Linked DNA regions of Homo sapiens: region 1 is linked to region 2. Evidence: promoter capture Hi-C in 16 types of primary human blood cells and fetal thymus (Javierre and others, 2016). All regions are on one chromosome and are shown on one strand. The core of a region is centred on a gene start or on the middle of the fragment in contact, and the rest is flanking DNA. Distances in the headings are between cores, read along the strand shown.

Evidence for each region. The method cuts DNA at HindIII sites, captures the fragments that hold promoters and counts their contacts. A CHiCAGO score of 5 or more calls a contact.
Region 1: a fragment that was not itself captured here is called in contact with the fragment with the promoter of SEL1L in region 2 in 1 of 17 cell types (total CD4 T cells); the score reaches 5.4 in total CD4 T cells.

What each region holds. Positions count from the first base shown.
Region 1 is chr14:87,983,112-87,988,494 of GRCh38, reverse strand. GALC (galactosylceramidase) reads left to right here. Exons shown (of 17, transcript NM_000153.4): 2 at 1-40; 3 at 288-351; 4 at 1,893-2,006; 5 at 3,962-4,101. Among named protein-coding and RNA genes, the nearest start is that of GALC, 7.4 kb to the left of the region's middle. The HindIII fragment of the contact is 2,015 bases long and covers 243-2,257 here.
Region 2 is chr14:81,530,479-81,537,765 of GRCh38, reverse strand. It overlaps SEL1L (SEL1L adaptor subunit of SYVN1 ubiquitin ligase), which reads left to right and starts at 3,913. Exons shown (of 21, transcript NM_005065.6): 1 at 3,913-4,091. The coding sequence starts at 4,022. RefSeq lists a silencer at 3,790-3,909 and an enhancer at 3,626-4,125. The HindIII fragment of the contact is 11,079 bases long and covers 1-7,287 here.

The sequences.
Region 1 (5,383 bases), core at 1-2,500, 6.5 Mb before region 2:
AGAGCCCTATCGTTCTCAGATATTGGATTATCTCTTTAAGGTAATGAAAACATAATTATTTCATGGTACCTGTGATATTTTAGAAATTGGATGGTGAATTTCACCATAGAATTTATTAGCCTCACAATTCTAGTTTTTGAAAAAATGGCACATTACTTTTGGAATAAATTGCTATTTGAAGTTTTGCTTTTGTTTTTGCGTCTGTAAAACCTAAGGCAGTAATTAGTAATTGTCTTGAAGCTTCATACAATACAACACTATGTTAATACTGTTACTTCTTTTCACAGCCGAATTTTGGTGCCTCTTTGCATATTTTAAAAGTGGAAATAGGTGGTGATGGGCAGACAACAGGTAGGAGAATTTGGGAGATAGGATTTCTCCCATCAACATTTTAATCTATACCTCAGCATATGGACTGTGATTTCAGAATATGTGTAAACAATACCAACACTTTTGAGATTGATTGTTGCTTATTAGAGTTTTCCTCATTTTTTAACTGTAATTATTTAAAAATATTATATAGAATATGACTGGTCCATCAAAAACAATATTCAAACTTCAAATTGCTTATTTAGTTGAAGTAATCGGTAGTAAACAAATCCACAGTTTTCTAAAACCTATATATACAGGACAGAGCATAGGGACAGTTTTGAATTTTATTGAGCAGTTAGAAAGATTTTAATTTCGTATAGAACAAAAAAAGTGTTATTAACTTAAAATATGTGGTAAAAATGATACAGCTTTTTTTTCTTTTAAAAACAAAACTTATCTTTAATCACTAAATCTTCAGTCTTCATTGTCACTATTTTGATTGGCTTTATGTAGTCCATGTTATCAACTGGCAGTTTATAGGCCTTTTGTTTCCAGGAAGAAGAAAAGAAATTCTCTCTATGATTAGATATAGCTTATTATTTACAGAACAGATTCCATTATAATGAACTCTAGAGTATTACTTGTATTCCTGCTAGTGATTTGGAAGTAACTCTTTGTTGAACAGATATGTCTATGTGGTGGTATTAGTGTTTATGTTGAAGAAAAAGTGCAAAGCAAAAACAAAAGAAACCCCCATAACAGAAACTTTCTTCAAGCTATTGCGTTTTACTGTTAAAACCTTTTAGGCAGAATTGACAATGATGGACTAATTTCACTTGCTGAAGCTAAATTAGAGGTAGAGGTACATAAACAGGCAGTTCTTGTGAATTCTGATGTTTACCTTTAAGAAGAAATGGGCAAGGGCCTCTCGGAAGGCCCTACTTAGCAAGGGCAGATGTTGGTGAACTGTGGGAATATACGAGGACTTTGATAGCAATTACCTACCTCAGTGCTAAGACAATGTAACCTCTACTAACTGCAGATGTTAGTATAGAATTTTGTTATTTTTAGAGTGGATATGTATACTCATTCCTTTTTTTTTCCTCAAAACTCTTCCTATATCAAGACATATTATAGGCTAAAGGTGTGGGTTCTGAGAACAGGGCTCACGAGTCCAGGGATTCATATCCAGCGTTGAAAAGCTGAAAGTTGAGGTAATCAGAACTTAAAGTTGGACATGGGGATTTGAAAACTACAGAGAGATCAAAAGCCCAGAAGCATGAATACTGGGAATTTTTAGTTATATGAGGTGATAACATTTCTCTCAGTACTGCTTGTAATAGAAGGTTGTGGTTTTATTAAGACTTTTACAATGCTTAAGATAATAAAAAAAGGATGAAATGATATGCTTTTATCATCCATCCTTTAGTTGTGTAAGATTATGATTTCCCCAACTTCAGGATTAGAACTGGAATACTGCTTTTGTGAAGTGTGTGTCTGGGGTGGGGGTGGGGAGTGAGATGGTCCTAGGAAGTACCATTCATGGATCATTACTTCCGTTTTTGCTCTCCTCTATTCAGACGGCACTGAGCCCTCCCACATGCATTATGCACTAGATGAGAATTATTTCCGAGGATACGAGTGGTGGTTGATGAAAGAAGCTAAGAAGAGGAATCCCAATATTACACTCATTGGTAAGAAATGAAGTTTGCAATGTTTCTTCAGTCTCTTTTCCTTTAACTTTTAAATTCTGAATCGTGTTGGTGGAATCTCTATTAATACGGAAGTACTCATAATGTCATTAATGCTACCAGTATGCTACCAGCAGCAAAGCATGTGCCAGGGGTGATCCTTTCTTTGCCCTTGTATATTATGTTGAATCCTTATAATACCTGTGGAGTAAGGCATGACTCTTTCCATTTTCCAGGAAGAAGCAGTAGAAGCTTAGGAAGATTATGCCACTGACCTAAGGTCATAGACAGTTAGTAAATGGCAAAATCGGTGTTAGCACCTAATTCCATGTTTCCTATGATGCTAAACTACTTTCCTTCACAAGATCTGTCATCAGTATTTATAAAAGGGTAACACTGTTCACAAAAATGTATATTACATGCAGTAGTACACCTAACTAGTTACAAAATTGTATATTGCATGTAGTAGTGAACCCTATTTTTAGAAAAGGTACATACAAAAGTGTTTTTTGTTTATTAGTTAGTTTTTGAACTTCAATAATGTGCTGGTTACTGTTCTGGGACTCAGGAAGCCAATCCCGTCCCCAATTCCTGCACCTGTGGGGCTTAGGTTCTATTGGGAGGATCATTGGCTAGTTGCTTAAATGGGACTATGTACATTTCACAGTTCTGTGAGAATGTGTACAGAGCTTGTGAAGTATTTCAAACATCAAGAGTGATGGGATACTTTCATCATTTGAAATGAATTTGATTTTTTGAAACAGGCTTAAATTCAAACTAAGTTAAATGAAATTAATGATTCATTTTAAAGACCTGATTTCTAGTTATTTAAAAAATAATTTTCTCAACAATCAGGTTAATGAAAAGTAATATTTTCTAAGTTAAAAGAAATTAGGAGTAAGTATGTTCTTTATAAATGGGCTTTTGTAAGAGATTCCAGAAATGCTGTGAGCAGTAAAAGCATCACTGAATTCAGCACATATCCACTAGACTGCTTCCAAGGTCAGACCTCATTTAAATGTAGAAAATATGGCATGCTAAACCATGTCCTAACAAAGACTTGGTAGGCCTTCAGATTGCATTTAGCATTTCATTGTTTTCAAGAATTCTATTACTTTAATGTCACATTTCTTATGTAATACACTTGGGTGTTCCTCCTGAGTTTAGAAAATAAGCATTTTGTCATTTTGATTTTTATTTTTTTCAGTGGTGAACTAGTTTGGTAATATATTTATTGCTGAGGAACTTAACTATTGAGCCTATTTTAATATATTAGTAGCAAGTTAAATTTAGAATTATAATAAGTACTTTTCTACTCTTCTTATTTTTTTACTTAAACATAATCAGGATTATTGGAAGAATATGGACTTATTTGATGTGTATCACTTAACAAGGGTATATTTCTCTATGGAGTCATTGTCATTTATAGTGATATAAGAACAAACTAGTTTTGCTAAATTAGATTGCCTGACTGATTAATATTTTAAGGACCCTAAATTGTAAGAAGATGTACAATTGAATGATAAATTTGTGTTATACATAACTCAAGAGTAGTTTGGCATAAGCCTTTTAGAATTCTTTGATTTGACCTCAAAGAACAGAAGTTGAATATTGAACATTCCAACAGTGAGTGGACATGTTAAGTTAAAACATATGGTACATTTCTTTCTATTGGTAAGGGTCTTGGAGAGAGGTGTTTGTATTTGTTATTTTTCTTCTTCTTGGAAAGAACATTTGAAATTATGGGACCTGACTCTAGGGATCAATAAGGAATTATAGTGTCTATAGATTGGAAAGGATTTCAATAATTTTTATATGGTATATAAACTTTCCTTTAGTCAGATCTGTATTGGTTTTTTGCTAGTTGAATGCTTTTCTTAAAAAAAATTTGTTTTATTTTCAATAGCGCCAGCACCGTTATACCTCCTCTACCTTTGCCTCCTCCCTTCTCTCTGCAGGGTTGCCATGGTCATTCCCTGGATGGCTGGGAAAAGGTTTCGACTGGCCTTATGTCAATCTTCAGCTGACTGCCTATTATGTCGTGACCTGGATTGTGGGCGCCAAGCGTTACCATGATTTGGACATTGATTATATTGGAGTTAGTAATATATTTAAAATATGATTCAGTTTTGGACATTTGTTTGTAATTTAGAAAATAATTTGATTCTGTGGTACTTTTTGACTAACCATTTTATGCCATGAGGCTAATTTGTTCTAATGGTGTCTGATAATAACACAAACTAAGTACCTGTGACCTTTAATTGCTCCCCTTTGCCCATCCCAGTGTTCCCACTTTTGAAAACTGTGTTGAGTGTATACCTCCTTCCTCTGAGCTGGGTTTTTTTTTTTTTTTTTTGTATCAACCCAACTCAAATTCTCCTTCAAAGCTTTCCCTGCTTTCTCTGGTTCCTACAACAGTGTTGTGTTTCCTATACAGCTTATGGGGGGTTAGTCTCATTTTATCCTCTTGTTGTCTTAAGCCAAAGATTGGCAAACTTTTTATTAAAGGGCCAGAGCATAAATAGTTTTGGGTTTGTGGGCCAAAAGGCAATATTGAGGATCTTGAGGTAAATATATAGCCATTTAAAATGTAACTATTTAAAACTAAAAACACTTTTAGCTCTCAAGTTGTAAAATTACAGATGATGGGCCAGATTTGGCAGGCTGGCTGAAATCTGCGTTCACCTGTCACAAACTGTTAGTTAACACCTTTTAAGGATTTGAAAAGTATGAAAAATGATATCATGTCCAGCTTGTCTCTTGGCTGGGTGGAGGCATGCCCCAGGCTGCATCGTACCCCACAGGGCCTTAACACACACATAGTGGGTCTCCATAATCATTTGCTTATTAATATACCATCAGTTAAAACTAATACTTAAACATTTTCATGCAATCATGACTTAGATTATCAGCAAACAATTATTGAGTTCCTACTGTGTTGCAGGAACTGTGACTGTAATATTTGAGGGCTACTAAGATTAATAAGCTCTTGTGTTCAGTAAGAGAAGTAGATGCTGGAACATATAAACTGTAATACTACATGATGATACAGGGCATGAGGATGAGCCAAGGGCTGGAGGAAGTCAGAAGAAAGAATATACTAGTTTTTGCTATCCTTTTCCAAATTATGACTGAAAAATTAGTTTATATTTGAGAACTTTCCTTTTTTTTTTACACTGTCACCCGGATTGGAGTGCAGTGTTGTGATCTTGGCTCACTGCAACCTCTGCCTCCTGGGTTCAAGTGATTCTCCTGCCTCAAGTAGCTGGGATTACAGGCACCCGCCACCACACCCAGCTAGTTTTTTTTTCTTTTTATTAGAGACGGGGTTTCACTATGTTGGCCAGGCTGGTCTCAAACTCCTGACCTCGTGATCCGCC
Region 2 (7,287 bases), core at 2,664-5,163:
GCAATGAGTAATAAAGCCAATGTGCTCAACTACAGGAATGTTCCTGTATATTTGTGGAAGGAAGGAAGGACCTGTGAAAATAATGTTCCTAATGCAACATTCACTAATTAAATACATTGCTATCTACTCAAGGGTTAACTGAATTTAATGGGAGCTCTAAGCTGTTTATCTCTACCTTATAAAGTTCACTTCATCGAGTTCTTATTTAAATTTAGTTATAATCCAGTCTCTCCCTGGAACTAGCAGTTAACAAATTTATGAAAATATTGGACCCAAGGATGCCTGTCCAGTTATTTAGGGTAAAAACATATCCTGGCCTTTCCTTTATCTGGTATGAGTCAACACTGCTCAGAGAACACACATGTCCAGAGCAAATGTCACCTCACGATGAAACTTGGTAAACAGCCTGAGGCTCCCTCCCCCCTTTCATCTTCTATCAGCTTCAAACATTAGGTAGATCAAACATACTCCTCCACAATCTATGATCTGCAATCCAAACTTAATGCTCTTAATTATAATCATGGAAACTGGCATGAACACCCAAAACTTATTAATTTGATCACTTTGATCACCTGCCATATGCTGTCCTGAAGTTAGGAGGGATAAGATGAGGTATAAGTCCATTGTTCATTTACTCCAAGAGCTCAGAATATAAATAAGAAGATGCCAGGTTCTATCTCACTATATAATGCAAGAGTTTATATTTTCATTTATGCATGAAAACTTTAATTTACCTCATCTATAGGAAAGAAAGTACATTCTTTTCTAAGCCCTGAAGGGAAAAATATTCTGCTTCTTGCTTCTCCCTAATCCTGCCCTGGCAAATACCTTAATACAAATGCTGACAGTCTTGCCTATTACCAATTCAAATGGAACGCAAAGAAAAGCACAGGAAAGGATATATCCCACTAGAGTTGGTGACAATTGCCCCATTCTCAGGAAAAGTCTCTGGAGGTTGTCTCACCATCCTTAAGTGAAAAGCAAGTTGGATTTATGTCCTCAACACGTTCAGGTTCTCAGCATTTGTTAATTGCTTGATTCATTTCAATGGCATGAGGTTACATCAGTGTCATCTGCATTAAAAGGTGTTTATTACCTACCTCTGTTGAGTGCTATGCTGTGCTGCAATGCAGAGCAAACAGGTTTTCTGCAACTTGGAAATCTCTGACAATGACCCAGAATGCTGATATGGACAGATGGAATAAAGACAGCTGAGCAAATATTGAAGCAGTCTAAGAATTAATAAATAATATTAACATTTTGTACAAGTACATAACCTTAACTGGGAATGCTGGCAGGTAACCTTGAGGAGTGTATGCACAGACTGGATAGGCCATGGAGAATTCACAACCTTTTTTCTAATTAATCTCATGTAATATAGCAGGCTGATAAAATAAATCTGACTTTCCCACAGCATATTCTGAACCACTTTGGAGACTTGGAACTTCCCCAGGAAGTCAGGTCCTATGAGAATTCTCAGAGCACGTCAGCTACTCATTGCTGGCTAAAGGCAAAAGCTCTAGCAGCTCTAAGCCCTTTTCGCATTAAGGGTATAAAACTAATTTCCCTCCTTCGCCTCAACCAAGCAATCAATAAGAAACAATACTATATGTAAAACATCCTACAATGTAGAAAGTGCTTTTATCCTGTGTCTCCATTTTGAATCTCACAACAGACAGGCAAGACATATCTATCAACCAATAAATAATTAACTAGTGCTAGTGGTGGCAAGTCCAGCACTATATACCTATACACAGAATCACATGATCATCTCCAGCCTCAGCATGTTTACAATCTGTTTATAAGGCAAGATTGTGAGTGTTCAATAGATTCTTAGAGAAATGAAGATTAATGAGGACAGATCTGGTTGGAGAAGTGTGATCCAAGACGAAATGTGAATGAAATTGGGAAGGATGCCAGAGTTATGGCTAAGTGAAAGAAGCAAGGGCAGTTGGAGAAAGGGTAGAGGAACCCTTAGGAAGACATGATTGTGTTAATGTGAAATCTGGAAAGTAAAACGGAAGTGGCTATTTGGTCCATGCAGCAGCACCCAGAACAACCCTTAAATATAAGACGTACTCAGTAAAGACAAAACTGAAAAAAGAAGTTGGGGCTTAACTAAGCAGCAAACTTTCCCCAGTTTTAATCAAACAGATAATCACTGGCTCTTCTGTAGAAGGCAGAAGTTTCTTCCCTGGTACTTCCCCAACAGAGTAGAACTGTCAGCACAGTTCCTATTTTGTGAGTAGAATAAGTTCTAATTTTTTTTATTCTGTGAAAAGTGTAGCCATTGAAAATTTTCAATAGGCATATGAAAGCAGTGTTTAAGGAAAATTAATATGGCCATGATATGTGATTCAGGTTAAAGGGAGAATGATGTCAGTGAGTATGGCTGGAACTCAGGTGCATCATCCAGGTGAGAGAAAATGAAAGCCATTAGGGGAGTTTTCAGTGAGGAAGAGAACAGAGGTACATAATAAAATAAAACAATTTAAAAGTTACATAGTTTAAACTGATAGAACTTGATTATCAATAAGATGAAAAAGAAAGGAAAATATACCAGATTTTACTCTATGATTTATAATCAGAGGAACTCAGAGGGAACATTGTTAGTGACAGAAATGGTGATGTAGCTGAAAAGACAAGTTTTTGGAGGAGATAATTCTTTCCTTCATCTCCTCCGATGTGAATGAGAAACAGTGGTTGGTTTTTTACCATCTTCCTGAAAATAAAAGGCTGTATCTCAAAAAACAAAAAACAAAAAACAAAAAAAAAAAGGAAGGAAGACAAATGCCCAGAAGTGTTAAGACACATGGCCAGCAGAGACTTTTCCAAAGTCCTTCACTTGGCTGGACTAGGTTCTAGGCCTTAGAGCTGACTGTGGGTGGATGACAGGGAAAGCAGAATGACACGGTTTGAGAAAAGAAAGGGCAGGCACACCAAGTCACTGCTCTGCTACTCAGTTGGAACATGCCTGGATTTCGTGCTTATTACATAGAGTATTTCCGTGCCTGCGATGCAATCACTATCACCTCTACCTCCACACACGTGAACCTGGTCTCCTGACTTTAGTTAGGAAAGAAGAGAACAATGCAACTCACAAGAGGAGAAGGATGAGGACAAGTGTTTAAAATAATTTTTCAAAGCTGTTGGCACATTTTCTTTATGATTATTGTCTGGTGAACCTAGTGAAAATAAATACTGTATTGAGATAATCTGTGCCGAGCGGATTTATTTCCTTTTGTTTTGTCGGAGAAAGGAGGACAGGTACTGAGTTGCACCCTGGTTTCCGTACTTCACGGTACTGTTTTATCTAAGTTTTAAAAAACACCTCAAATTCAACTAGCTGTGGCATTTTTCTCAGTGCTCTTATCACTATGCCCAATTTAAATTTTTTAAATAAAACAGGAAAAGATGCTAAACACATTACAAGTTCTTAAAATTATTCCTTAATATTTATTTTGGGTCAATTTAAAAAGGCTTGTGAATCCATAGCCTTGAGTTAATATTTAGCCCAGGTGTTAGTTAAATTCTAACTTCAACAGTCACCCGCACTTGTAAATCTTGCCCTACGATGGACTACGTTTCCCAAGAGCACCCCCCGAGTTAATCACATGAAGCGCATTCTGGGAATTGTAGTCTCGGATGAGCCTCTTTCTCCCAGTCTTGGACTCACGCGCTGATTCCGGTTGAACCCAGGGGCTACCAATTAGCTGGGGCCATGTCCGTGAGTCGTGGTCCAACCGAGAAAGCTGGTGTGGGAGCTTCGTACAATGATTGGCCAATGAATGACCCCCGGGGCGGAGCAATGGGGGTGGGCGGGGAGACCATGGTGATTGGACCAGAAGCCCGCGACGGCGGGCGGGGATTGGCTGCGCGCTGGGTCAGGGAAGCCTGGGAAGGGGCGGAGGAAGGAGACTAGAGCAGGAAGAGCAGCGGCGAGGCGGCGGTGGTGGCTGAGTCCGTGGTGGCAGAGGCGAAGGCGACAGCTCTAGGGGTTGGCACCGGCCCCGAGAGGAGGATGCGGGTCCGGATAGGGCTGACGCTGCTGCTGTGTGCGGTGCTGCTGAGCTTGGCCTCGGCGTCCTCGGGTCAGTATCCGCCCCCTCGGGCTGAAGGCCCAGAGCCTCCGCCCCCCAGCCTCTACAGCCGGCGGGGCCGTGGGGACTCCAGGCTCGGGACCCCGTTCTCCCTGGGCACATCTCGCACTGGGCTGTCACTCGCTCTTTGGCTTTGCTTGGCCTGCGCCAAAGGGGCTATTTAGGAAGGTGGAGTGGGGTGGAAAAAGAAGGGGCGGTCACCCTGCCCACACCTCTCTCCCACGTAACAAACTTTGCGCGACTCTTCTCACGAACGCGGAATTGACTCCAAAGGAATGAATCCTGATACAGGAGCCCGAGTGGAGCTTCCTCGACCCTGGGGTAGAGGAAGGGTCTGGTCTAGAACTCTGGGCTTGGGAATTGTAAGTTAAATAATTGACAAACCTGGAGCTGTCACTTTGGGGCAGAGGAGGATCCATCCAGACCAGGATGTTGACAGTAGTTTGCTTAACACCTGAGATGGTCCCTGGTCTGTCTGTTTAAAAACGAAGACTTTTGATCTCATCGTAGCCACTTTTTACTTTTTTGAAACCTTCCTGAGAAAGCGGTGACCTGTCACAGTGTTTCTGAGTTGCCCCATGTTTGTTGACAGTCATTTTATGATGTTTGGGAAAATCTTGGTTCTTATAAGATGCGTTTTATATAGATACAGAAATTTGTGTGCTTTTGAATTGATTTTCCAGTTAGCTAATGTTTATTCTGGTTCTGCTTTTTTCCCCCTTTTTTAATGTTTTAATCTGCCTACATTTGAAAATTTCCATTTTGAGAGTGTTCATGAAAACTTCGTGTTTCTAAGTGTTGATAAATAAAAATTAGTACAGTAAAACTTTGGAATTTTAATCAGTTTCAGTTAACAGGACAGGTGTTCTGTGGCTTGACGTTTTGGGGGGACAACACGGAGTATAAATGTCAGCTTTTTCTTTTTTTAATAAATGTCAGCTTTTTTTTAACAGAAAATTTCCCAGATGGTTATCTGAATCCCCAAATTACCTGTCCTAGTTGTAAATCAATGCCATAACGTCATTCTGCTTCTAAAATAAGAGGCTTAAACCTAAATTCTATCCATGATGTGGTTTGAGATACCATTTCAAAAGCACCAACCCTATGCTAATTACTTTACTGCCAACATCATTCTTTCAGGTCCACTCCCCTCCCTCCAGTAGTAGTGATGGTTTGAGTTAATGACCAGATCTTTAGACTATACTTAACTCTCGAAGCACTTTTAGCAGTTATTTAATATTTGATCAAAAAGCATGAAATGAAGCTGTTGAGCTTAATGAGTAGAGTACCTGCTGGACCATGGACCTCCTGCATCAGAATTCCTCTTATGGGTTTGTTAAACATTGGGTTTTAGGTCTGGAACAGCTCAGGTATACATAGATTAACAATCTCCATGAGGGATTCTTCACACTAAAGAGAACTACAGTAATGAAAGAGCACGGTGTGTATCCCTCTGAATTTAATTGGCAGAGTTTAAAGAAAATTAAAGCATAGGAATTGTGCTGTCTGTCTTTGACTGCATTTTATATACTTAGAGCTCCATGCCAGTGGAAAAGATATTTGAAGATCAACAGTTGGGGCTTTCAGGATGTTGTAATAAAAGACTTAACACTGATATATTAAATCCTTGGGTTGTATTGATGTAGGTAGAGGACTGTATTCAAGAAATGTCTGCTCTGATTTCCATCATAGTTAAAGCTGTGCCACAACATTTCAATGGTAAAGGCAGAAGCCTTAGCCAGAACTAAAACAATGTAGATGTGCATGCTAAAAGGTAATAAAGGCAGTGCTGTGCTCACATGAAGTTCATATATCATAAAACACCTGTGCGGGCCCAGCTCATACCTGTAATCCCAGCACTTTGGGAGGCTGAAGTGGAAGGATCACTTGAGCCCAGGAGTTCAAGACCAACCTGGGCAACATGGCGAAACCCCATCTCTACGTAACTCCAGGTGTGATGGTGCACACGTGTAGTTCCAGCTACTCGGGAGGCTGAGGTGGCAGGATGGAGTGAGCCCCAGGAGGTTGAGGCTGCACTGAGCTGTGATTATGCCACTGCACTCCAGCCTGGACAATAGAGCGAGACCCTGTCTCAAAAAAAAAGAAAAAAAAACAACCCTGTGTTAAATAAAGTTGTGTAAATTAAGCTATGGATTTTCAATTGTGATTTTCATTCACAGGGTTTCGGCCTCAAAGTTTAAAGTTTTACTCCAGTATTAAAATCAAGTTTTTGGTTATAATTTTGTGTTTGAACATTAGTGGTTACCCAGGGCAGGTCGCATCTCTCCAGGTGGAGTATGGTCAGCCAACAAAGAGAATCTTGATTCTATTGCTGTTGATAGCTGTTAGCTAGTATCATGTTTTAGAAGCATGTAAAAATATGATATAGTCACATGCTACATAATGACATTTTGGTCAACAATGAACCCCATGTAAGATGGTGGCCCTGTAAGAATATAATGGAGCTGAAAAATTCCTGTCACCTAGTGACATTGTAGCCATTGGAACATGGTAGCACACTTTTTAAAAAATAAATTTAGTGTAGTTTAAGTGTACAGTGTTTACAATAGTGTATAGTAACATCCTAGGCTTCACATTCACTCACTCACTCACCCACAGCAACTCTTAATCCTGCAAGTTCCATTTATGGTAAGTGCCCTAGACAGGTATATGTTTTGTAATCTTTTACACCATATTTTCACTGTAGCTTTTCTATGTTTAGCTATGTTTATGTACACAAATACTTACTGTTATGTTACAGTTGCCTACAGTAGTCTGTATAGTCACATGCTGTACAGATTTGTAGCTTAGGAACAACAGGCTACACTATGTAGCCCAGGTATGTAGAAGGCTATCCCATTTAGGTTTAAGTATACAAAAAGGAAATCGCCCAGTGATACACTTTTCAGAACATATCCTCGTCATTGACACATGGCTAATATTAGAAACATTTTCTCTTTTCTATTAATAAATTTAAAGGAGGACACTAAAAAGATATTTCTTCATTTTCTCAGGATAATAGTGAAAAGGTTATAATTTTTCTCACAAATGCATGCTTTCTTATTTTTGGCAGAAGAGGCAAATGGCTTAACCTTTTTTTTTCTTTGTGCCAAGCAGTGTTAGTCATTTTAGTTAGGTCCACTGCCAGGTATTTCAGGTAATAATTATAAATTCAGAGAGTAGTTTT